3 separate regions of the Homo sapiens genome follow, and regions 1 and 2 are each linked to region 3. The links are contacts of gene promoters, found by promoter capture Hi-C in human tissues and cell types (Jung and others, 2019). All regions are on one chromosome and are shown on one strand. The core of a region is centred on a gene start or on the middle of the fragment in contact, and the rest is flanking DNA. Distances in the headings are between cores, read along the strand shown.

Region 1 (3,654 bases), core at 799-3,298, 78 kb after region 3:
CACTTGCCAAGGCTGGATCCACAGCTGGAAATAGCTGCATGCTTTGCCAGGGCTGCTGTAACAAAGCACCACAGCCAGGGTGGCTTGAACAATAGAAATGTATCATCTCCCAGTTCTGGATCCTGGAAGTCTTGAGATCAAGGTGTCTCCAGGGTTGGTTCCCTTGAGGGCTGTGAGGGAGAATGGGGTCCAGGCCTCAGCCCTAGCTCTGGGTGGTTTGCTGGCCATCTGTGACGTTCCTTGCCTTGTAGATGCACCACTTTGATCTCCGCCTTTATCTTCACATGGCGTTCTCCCTGTGCGCATGTGCGCATGTCTGTGTCCACATCTCCCCTGTTATAAGAAGCACCATCCTGCTCCAGTATGAACTCATCCTAACTAATTAGATCTGCAAAGATCCTACTTCGAAATAAAGTCCCATTCTGAGTTACTGGGGGTTAGGATTTCAGCATATGAATTGGGAGGACAGAATTCAACCACAGCCCATAGCAATACCTAAAAGGTTTGTTTGTTTATTTGGACATCCTTTGATTTCTAGCTGTAGTATAGATAGAAAATTTAGACTCTCAAGCCAAGTTTTCAGAAAAAACATAATTGCAAAGTCAGCACCCCATTGAAGGTGGCCCTCCATGCCAGCAGGCACTGCTTCAACCCCTCCCTGTCTCTCCTGGGGACACGGAGGTGCTGTTGGCTATGTCTGTGTCCCTGGGCGAGAGGCTGAGAAGGTGGGGTCTTCTCACCCTGCTTGGGTTCTGGCTGCTGTCACCTCTATTCACCAAGCCAAGGTGCTCATTCTCCACGAGTGGGTAACCCTAAGTGACCCCTACACATTTTGAAGTTTGAGCTGAAGTGGGATTTAAATTGAACCAATATTATTAGCACCTACTATGGGTCAGGCAGCAGGATCAAGATCAAGTATGATCTTGATCTTGACCTAACATCACAGACATAAGATGCTAAGAGTGGAGGCAATAATTAACACATGAATGGTATAATTTCAGATTATATTGCAATTTAATAATTTCAGAAAAAAATCGCAAAAACAGGGAAGTATAAGACAGTAGGCATCTGTTACACTCCTCTGGACATTTGCTTTCTGAACCATAACATGGTGTGGAAGGCACAGGTGGACGCCTAGCCCCTGGCCTGCAACTTCCAATTTGGTCACTGAGGGCCCCTCTGCCTCTCTCCTTCTGCGATTTTGCTGGGCTGTTGGGGCTGCAGCCACCCCTGTGCCTCTGAGAGGTTTGTCTTTCTGCTGCTGTCTCACAGCTCCGCCTCTTCTCGGCAACTGAGACGTTGTCACTCCCTTGGCAAAGTCATCATGATTTGTCATCCGTGATGTCACCAGATGACAGCCTCTCCATGACCTGGATCCTAAAGGGCAGGCAACTGACACCAGGATGGACTAGCTAGGTGCTCAGCTGACCCAGCGTCACAGATCCCAGACCTGACTCCATGAATGACAAAGGCCCAGTCACATCCTGGGTGGCAGGCTCAGATGTTGGGTGGGTCTAGCCATGCCGGCCTGTTCATTAGGTCTGCCTACCTTTTCATGGTGCAGAGCTTAGTAGAGTGCCTAGCTGTGCCACTCACTTGCTGTGTGACCTTGAGCAAGTCACTTACCCTCTCTGTGCCTCAATTTCCTCATAGGATTACTGTGAGGCGTAAGTGAGTGCATGGGTGTGAAGTGTTTAGAACCCGCACTCTGTAAACAGGGACAAGTGTTATTGTTGTGGTTGCCGCTGGGAATCTTTACATTTCTGCCATGATGCTTATGTAAGGAAAAACCCAGGTTGGAAGGCATCCATCCATGACTCTCTGGCACCATCATTTTCTCCCCTTTACCAACCTGGGCTTCACTTGGTAGCAGCTGCCTGGCCCTTGGCCTCCCCATACTACCCTCACTAAATCTATTAGGACGTGCAGTGCTGTCTCACCATTCTTCGATGGGTACAAATCCTTTATTTTCATGAACTCCTCTTCCCAGATCCATTTTATCTTTCAGATCCCTTACCTCTACCAAAGTGGCTCTTTATCTTCACCATCCTCAAATCCCTCAACGCCCCCTAATCTCGTAATCCAGTGTTTATCAAGCTTCACTTATTGTTTAAGTGTACCATTCCCTGCAATTTGTGTCTCTTACTTATAGAATATTACATTCGTTTGTTAATGCTATATTATTTTGTTAATTTTTAAAAATGGATTTGTTGTCTCTACTAAAAAAATACAAAAAAAATTAGCCGGGCATAGTGGCGGGTGCCTGTAGTCCCAGCTACTCGGGGGGCTGAGGCAGGAGAATGGCGTGAACCTGGGATGCGGAGCTTGCAGTGAGCTGAGATTGTGCCACTGCACTCCAGCTTGGGCGACAGAGCAAGACTCCGTCTCAAAAAAAAAAAATGGATTTGTTAAAACTGCAATCAGTTATTGTCACCATCAGTGAAAAACTGGTGTGACTTAGACAGAAAGTACTTGGGAATAAATATACTGAACACAAAACAATTGTAATTAAATCAGACCAGGGGTACTCAAACTCTTTCTGTATTGGGCCAGATAGTAAATGTTTCGGGCTTTGCAGGCAATCTTGTTGGTCTCCGTTACAGCCATTCAACACTGCCATTGTAGTGTGATATGGTTTGGCTTTGTGTCCCGACCCAAGTCTCATTTCAAATTATAATCCACATAATTCTCATTATCCCCAACTGTCAAGGGAGAGACCAGGTAGAGGTAATTGGATCATTGGGGTAGTTTCCCCCATGCTGTTCTTGTAATAGTGAGTTCTCACGAGATCTAAGGGGCTCATCCCCCTTTGCTGGGCACTTCTCCTTCCTGCCACCTTGTGAAGAAGGTGCCTTGCTTCCCCTTTCCCTTCCACCATGATTGTAAGTTTCCTGAGGCCTCCCCAGCCATGCTGAGCTGTGAGTCAATTAAACCTCTTTCCTTTATAAATTACCCAGGCTTGGGTATGTCTTTATAGCAGTATGAAAACAGACTACTGCATGGTGAAAGAGCCAGAGATGATATGTAAATGAATGAGTGTGGCTGCATTCCAATAAAACTTTGCTGTAATCCCAGCACTTTGGGAGGCTGAGGTGGGCAGATCACCTGAGGTCAGGAGTTTGAAACCAGCCTGTCCAACATGGTGAAACCTTGTCTACTAAAAATACAAAAAATAACTGGGTGTGGTTGCCCATGCCTGTAGTCCCAGCTATTCAAGAGGCTGAGGCAGGAGAATCGCTTGAACCAGGGAGGTGGAGGTTGCAATAAGCCGAGATCGCACCACTGCACTACAGCCTGGATGACAGACGGAGACTCCATCTCCAACCAAACCAAACCAAACCAAACAAAACAAAACACCTTTATTTACAAAACCAGGCAGCAGGTCAGATTTGCTGATTTCCAAACTAGACATTGTTGCCTACTGAAATTGCTCTCTTTCTCAAATAAAGACCCAAGACTCACAAAGTTTAGAGAGGTACATAAAACATAATAGCACCAACCAGTGGCTTTGTCCTGGAAGTCATAGGAAAGATTGAATGAAAATTGAAATGGCTATGCCTTTTAATGTGAGCCTGTCTGCCAACTGAAATCCCTTCCCATACTGCCAGGGATATAGTGCCAGAATCTGGAAAAATGTTGACCCTGATCAATGCT
Region 2 (3,511 bases), core at 50-2,549, 96 kb after region 3:
CCTCTGTATCTTTCCATTTAGCTGTTCTAGATGCAGAGATAGAGGCAGGGGTAGGAAAGAAATTAGGGCAACATGCATTTTGTCCTTGGCTAATGATCAAGTTCAGAGAAGACAGTGGTCAATGAGAAAGATAAGGTCAAGCGGAAACAGTGACATCCCCTAGCCTACCCCACTGCCTCTGATGTAAATATTATATAATTAGGAACTAAACTTCTTCAGCTGACTAACCCCTAGAGTCATGTTGTCATGTCCAGGGGCACGTGCCATCTTGGAGAGTATTTTTCCCAGGCCTCCCTTCATTGTTCAGTCTTTGGAATGTTTGATACTTGTGATCTTGAAAGTCTGCTAAGGGAGCTAGGGCTGTCAAACCCAATGGGTCAGAGCTCAGCCATCCCTCCCTCCTCTGTAAAGGACCTCCGTGGGTCAGTTTTGGTTCCAGAAGTATGCAAATGAAGAATCCAGCTCTGGCACTCAGATATGTAAACATGAGGTTCTCCCTTGGGCATAGCCCACCTTCGAAGAATTTCCCAGCATGCATTGCACTTGGCAGAGAGAGTTGGATGAATGATGCCTGGATGCAGGGGCAGGGGGTTAGAGTGACCAAAGGGAAGGCCACAGCCGGGATCCAAGGAAGCATCAGTCAGAATAGAGATCAAGTGGATACATCTGGCAACATTCCCGGCTGCATGGAGGGTGGAGCCCCAAGCTCTATCTTCCCCACAGGGTCAGGAAGAGCATTTTCCTGGATCAGTTTTATGGCACCCCACAGAGGAGACAGGGATGTCGGATGTTGGTCATCAGATCTTCTCCCAGTCAAGGTGGCAGGGAGATGCGGAAACCACCATCAGCGAGTCAGGAAGAAGGACTTGAGGCTGCGTAAGAAATTCGACTTCTGTCTGTGCTTCTGTTTCTTTTTGATGATGGGCACCCACACCAGCCCGCACACCAGCATCATGAGTCCCAGGGACAGGAAGCCAGGCCCTACCATTTTGAGGATGGAGAGACTCTTGTCACTCAGCTTCAAGGTGTAGGCCAAGCAGGTGATGACCACGCCGAAAAGCAGGATGGCACCGCCCACTGACATGATAACGATGGGCTTGCGGTAGATTTCCCAGTTACTCCTGGGGGTGGTGGTCCAGACAGACTCGCTCCTGGAGCTGATGCACAGGGAGCTGGCGGTCTGGCTGGGCAGCAGGTCCTTGGCTTCTGGAGACTTCTCATCGACCTCTAGAACCTTGGGGAGAGTCTCCATCGTCATGGTTGCTCAGGACTGGGCGCCTAGGACCAGCAATAGTTGGAAACAAGAGTGGAGCCAAAGGAATCCTCACACACCCTTCCTGTACTCAGCATCCATCTCTAGCCCCGCTCTCAGTGGAGGGTGAACAAGGTTTTTGTGCTGAAGCCAAAAAAGAAAATGAAATGAAATTCACATAAATAAGAAACCACCCAAGCTGGTATAATTTTTTTTTCTTGCAAGAGATAAATATTATAACATTTTATTCAATAGCTTTTAATATTTAAAACAAGGAACAGTGATGCCATTTTAGAAACAAACAAGTTATAGTTTTTTGTTTGTTTGCTTGTTTTTTTTTTTAGATGGAGTCTCCCTTTGTCACCCAGGCTGGAGTGCAGTGGCCGTGACCTCAGCTCACTGCAACCTCCACCTCCCGGGTTCAAGTGATTCTCCTGCCTCAGCCTCCTGAGTAGCTGTGATTCCAGGCACCTGCCATGAAGCCTGGCTAATTTGTGTATTCTTAGTAGAGACGGGTTTCCACCATGTTGGCCAGGCTGGTCTCGAACTCCTGACCTCAAGTTATCCACCTGCCTCGGCCTCCCAAAGTGCTGGGATTACAGGCATGAGCCACCGCACCCGGCCAGCTATATTTTGTTGAATGGCATTTTATTTTCAGACCCAACCACTTTCTAGTTGTCTGATCTTGATGGAATTACTCAACCTCTCTTTGTCTCAGTTTTCTTATCTATAAGATGAGGATAATGTTACTTCTTTCATAGAATTTTCAAAACGGTGTGAGTTAAGGGATGTAATGCATTGAAATAATGCCTAGCATATGGCAAATACTCCATAAATGATATCGTTTGTCTATTAGAAGAGTGATGCTTTACAGATAAATTCTGCATGTGTGTCCTGTGCCAGACACTGCATCAAACACTTCCTTTGTTAAATTGAAACCTGACAATAAACCTGTGAATTAGGCATTAGTCCTGTTTTACTGATGAGATAGTGAAGCTTCAGAGAGGTGAAGCAACTTCTTGAAGATCACACGATAAGGAACAGCCTGAGCTCAGATTTGAACCCTGTCACTCCTACCAGGCTATGCGTAGTCTGGAGAACACCGTTTCGTGCAGCCTGGGCTTTCACGTGCTCTGTCAGCAGAGGACAGTGATGTCACAGGTTCACAGTGCAACCTTCTTTTTTTTTTTGAGATGGAGTTTCACTCTTGTTGCCCAGGCAGGAGTGCAATGGCGTGATCTCAGCTGACCGCACCCTCCGCCTCCCGGGTTCAAACGATCCTCCTGCCTCAGCCTCCTGAGTAGTGGGGATTACAGGCATGCACCACCACACCCAGTTAATTTTGTATTTTTAGTAGAGATGGGGTTTCTCCATATTGGTCAGGCTGGTCTTGAACTCCTGACCTCAGGTGATCTACCTGTCTTGGCCTCCCAAAGTGCTGGGATTACAAGCATGAGCCACTGTGCCTGGCCCCCACAGTGCAACCTTCTAAGATCTAAACGCCACCCTTCCCTACCCTCCATGTTAATTACATCAAGGCCAATTTCCAGCTTCCTATTCTCAGGCCTGGAAAGGTATGGAGTCTCACTCAATTGCCCACCCCAGGGTCTAATCGAGAGCCCATCTGCATAGCTCTCAGCCACTGGGGCTCCCTCATCACTGACCCTGACTCAGGGGAGGTAGATGGTCACCCATGTGGAGCAATTTCAGGGCTGGGCTGCAGAGAAGCACTGCTTGCCCGCCAAATACTTCACCAGACCAGTGCTTTCTCAAATTCTTTTCATGTCCGATTAAAGCATTTCTTTCTTTTCTTTCTTTTTCTTTTCTTTTTTTTTTTTTTTTTTTTTTTTTTGAAGTGGAGTTTTGCTCTTGTTGCCCAGGCTGGAGTGCAGTGGTGCGATCTTGGCTCACTGCAACCTCCGCCTCCCAGGTTCAAGCCACTCTCCTGCCTCAGCCTCCTGAGTAGTTGGAATTACAGGTGCCCACCACCACACGCAGCTAATTTTTGTATTTTTAGTAGGGACAGGGTTTCACCATGTTGGTCAGGCTGGTCTTGAACTCCTGACCTCAGGTGATCCACCCTCCTTAGCCTCCCAAAGTGCTGGGATTACAGGTGTGAGCCACCGCACCCAGCCTAGATTAAAGCCTTTCATTTCATAATCAGAAATGTGGGTTCAAGGCAAAGGTCTATATATTTACAACAAGATAATAAGATGTAAATGACTGATATTAGGTACTTTCCTGAGGATAGGTTCTGTT
Region 3 (3,212 bases), core at 146-2,645:
AGAAATATAAGTCACTGAATTAGCAGAACCTCAGAACTTAAGCCTGTTATTTTCCGGTCAAAGGTTTGCATTGAGTGTCTGGCTAGAAACTCATAAGGAATTGTTCAACTGATCTTGAGAGGCCTACTCTAGGTCCTCAAGAAAGTCCTCAGTTGGGCCATCTAACCAAAGGGAATACTGCAGAAAGACCTGTTTCCAGAAAGTTCGAAATTCACACACACATTACATTAGAACTCTGATCCTGCCTATTAATATTTTAGGAAAAAGCGCTTCCCAAGGGTTTGATTTTTAAGTTTCTCAGAAAATTAAGCAGGGAGGAGGGGTAAAGACATAAAACCGTGTGTTTTGTGCCGTTCCCCAATTCTTCCAAACGGAGGAAAGCCTGGAAGCGGCTCATACTCACCACCCACACCTCTGCATCTGGGTCATTTACCTGGAACGCCAGAATACCAAGGTGTTAGCAGACATCCTGTGCTGTTCCATTCCTTTTAAATTCATTTAAGCACATTTTTTATTAATTTGTTAAGTGCCAGACACTGCAATAGGCATCGAGGGTACAAAATCTGAACAGGATATAGTCCAGATGAGGACGGGTGAAGGGGTTTCTGGCTGACACAACAGATGTTTTTAACAGGCAGCCACACATTTTTGAAAAGCCTTCACGGGAGCTCTGGAGAGGACTCGCCAACCCAGAACGGGTATTTTAAGGGCCCTCCACCCCCACCAGTCTCAAGAAATGAGGGAAATGATTATGAAGGGGGTCCCCAAGCCGACTAAAAAGTTTAATGATGCTATAAAGGGTTTTGGTCGGCTTCGTCTCCTAGGCCCTGAGATATGTTCAGTGTCGTCCGCGGGCCGGACGTTAACGCAGGAGCCAGGGCCGCTTCTTCTGAGGTCCCCTGGGAAGTTCCACGCGCGGAACCAGCCCCTTCCAGGGTGTGAGCCCTGGTATGGGACTCGCTTCCATGAACACATCCGCGTCTCTTAGACGGGGGAGAAAGTGGGGGCTCCCCAAGCAGAAAGCCCAAGTCCCGTCCTCCCCACTAACTGTGCGCCCCTGCGACTCTGCCCGCTAGTCAGTTACACGGCCCGCTAGGCCAGGGGGCGGAGCTGGGAGCCGGGCGGGTCCCCCTCCCACCGCGGCCGCCTGACCTGCACCAAGGCCGCCAGCGCGAAGAAGGCGGCCATGAGTCCGTTGCAGGCCCGCCACAGCGCTGGCGCCATGGCTCGGAGAACACGGCGCGGGGCGGTGAGTCCTGCCACGTGCGGGGCGGTGAGTCCTGCCACGTACGGTCCGCCTTCCTCCTTGCGCGGAGGGACCGAGACCCCCGCCTCGGTTTCGGTGCCTTGGGGACACTGCCGTGGCCGTCGCTCCGCCCGGGGGCGGGGAGCGAAGGGCGTGGGTGTAGCCCCCACTCAGCGACCCATTCAGCCCGCCCCGAACGCCGCGGGGTGTAGGCGGCGCCGTCCTGGTTTCGCGGATGGGAAAGCGAGTCCCTCAGGGAGCGCAGGTCTCGGTGGTGGACGGAAGTCGAATTTGAACCCGTATAGGTTCAACTCCAAACCCTGTTTTCACTAAAGCTACCTTCCTCACAAAAAAAAAAAAAAAGAAGAAAGAAAAAAAAGAAGGAAAAAAGGAAGGAAGGCAGGCGGGAGGGGAGAGAGGAAGAAAGAGAAAGAAAGAAAAAGAAAGAAGGAAAGAAAGGGCTGGGCGCAGTGGCTCACGCCTGTAATCCCAGCACTGTGGGAGGCCGAGGTGGGCGGATCACCTGAGGTCAGGAGTTCGAAAGCAGCCTGGCCAACATGGTGAAACCCCGTATCTCTACTAAAAATACGAAAAAATTAGTCGGGCGTGGTGGCGGGAGCCTGTAATCCCAGCTACTCAGGAGGCTGAGGCAGGAGAATTGCTTGAACCCGGGCGGCGGAGGTTGCAGTGAGCCCAGATTGTGCCACTGCACTCCAGCCTGGGCAACAAAGCGAGACTCCTCAAAAAAAAAAGGATAAAAATTGTTTTTACAAAAATAAGAAAGAGAAAGAAAAAGAGATGTGTGTGTGTGTGTGTGTGTGTGTGTGTGTGTGTGTGTGTGTGTTCTGTTTAGTATTTATGCATTTCCTTCCAAAGCTCAGGAACTTTCAAATCCCTGTAAGCATTATGGTAATTTCTAGAGTGACGACAGTTATATTAACATCTTATACGGCTCACAGCTTTTCGGCAGACAGGCTCATTTATCTTCATGGGCTTTTATTATAAAAGATATTTACATATTATACATATTTACAATTCTCTCCCACCACCAAAACCAACAAAATTTCCAAAATTGCTCATGAATTTCTTATGAACCGAAGACACTGAAATATTCACTGTTCTCCCCTAGTCTGTCTGGTCTTTTTCTGTTTTGTAATTCGCCCTTCTGCTTAGTTCCTCCCCGGGCTCATTTACACATCCATAGGCCTCATTTCTGCTGTTCTAAAGAGTCTTTATCGCTTCAAATCAGGAGCTTCTGTGCCTGTCCTCTTTTCCTTTGAGCTAAATCTCCTAAAACTGTCTAGTTTTTTTTTTCTTTCCCTCTCAGTTTCATTCTTTTCACGAAACACTTATTTCAAGAACGTTGTCTGCTCTGTGCCTGGTGCTGGGACCGTGAAGGTCCCGTGCCGGGACTAGGCAGGGAGCCTGGCGGCTGGCGGGGGTGGGCACCCGTGTTTGCAGAGGTGGGGTGGGGACAGCGGGGACCAGCACTGGGTGGAGTTCCACAGCTAAATCAGCCCTGGGATTGGAAACAAGCGAAGACTATTCTCACTGTGCTTTTCCTTACATAAAAGAAAAAAATGAGAGCGAGAGTGCTAGGGGCTGACTTGCATTCCCCCTGCACCCCCAATTCATATGCTGAAGCCCTAACCCCCAGTGCCTCAAAATGGGACTGCATTTGCAGACAGGGACTTGACAGAGATGATTAAGTTAAAATGAGGTTATAGGGTGGACCCTAATCCAATATGACTAGTGTCCTGATACGAAGAGGGGACAGTTACAGAGGGAAGACCACATGGGCACACAGGGAGAAGACGGCCGTCTGCAAGCCAAGGGGAGAGGCCTCATGAGAAACCAACCCTACCAACATCCTGAATTTGGACTTCCAGCCTCCAGAACTGTGAGAAAATAAATTTCCGTTGTTTAAGCCACCTAGACTGTGGTACTTTGTTGGGACAGTCCTAGC

The links. Contacts are between HindIII fragments. The study calls those that stand out against the background at their distance.
Region 1: a fragment that was not itself captured here is called in contact with the fragment with the promoter of TMEM220 in region 3 in 2 of the 25 tissues and cell types used here (stomach and thymus).
Region 2: a fragment that was not itself captured here is called in contact with the fragment with the promoter of TMEM220 in region 3 in 2 of the 25 tissues and cell types used here (H1 embryonic stem cells and liver).

Annotation. Positions count from the first base shown.
Region 1 is chr17:10,806,459-10,810,112 of GRCh38, forward strand. The region is part of intron 3 of TMEM220-AS1 (TMEM220 antisense RNA 1); the gene reads left to right. Among named protein-coding and RNA genes, the nearest start is that of TMEM238L, 4.2 kb to the left of the region's middle. RefSeq lists enhancers at 794-1,295, 1,296-1,795. The HindIII fragment of the contact is 6,861 bases long and covers 1-3,654 here.
Region 2 is chr17:10,824,388-10,827,898 of GRCh38, forward strand. It overlaps PIRT (phosphoinositide interacting regulator of transient receptor potential channels), which reads right to left. Exons shown (of 2, transcript NM_001101387.2): 2 at 1-1,396. The coding sequence starts at 1,258. The coding sequence ends at 845. Among named protein-coding and RNA genes, the nearest start is that of PIRT, 12 kb to the right of the region's middle. The HindIII fragment of the contact is 9,418 bases long and covers 1-3,511 here.
Region 3 is chr17:10,728,628-10,731,839 of GRCh38, forward strand. It overlaps TMEM220 (transmembrane protein 220), which reads right to left and starts at 1,396. Exons shown (of 6, transcript NM_001004313.3): 1 at 1,153-1,396; 2 at 404-433. The coding sequence starts at 1,224. TMEM220-AS1 (TMEM220 antisense RNA 1) reads left to right here and starts at 1,150. Exons shown (of 4, transcript NR_073458.1): 1 at 1,150-1,273. RefSeq lists enhancers at 848-1,434, 1,435-2,021 and silencers at 1,035-1,204, 1,215-1,454. The HindIII fragment of the contact is 10,329 bases long and covers 1-3,212 here.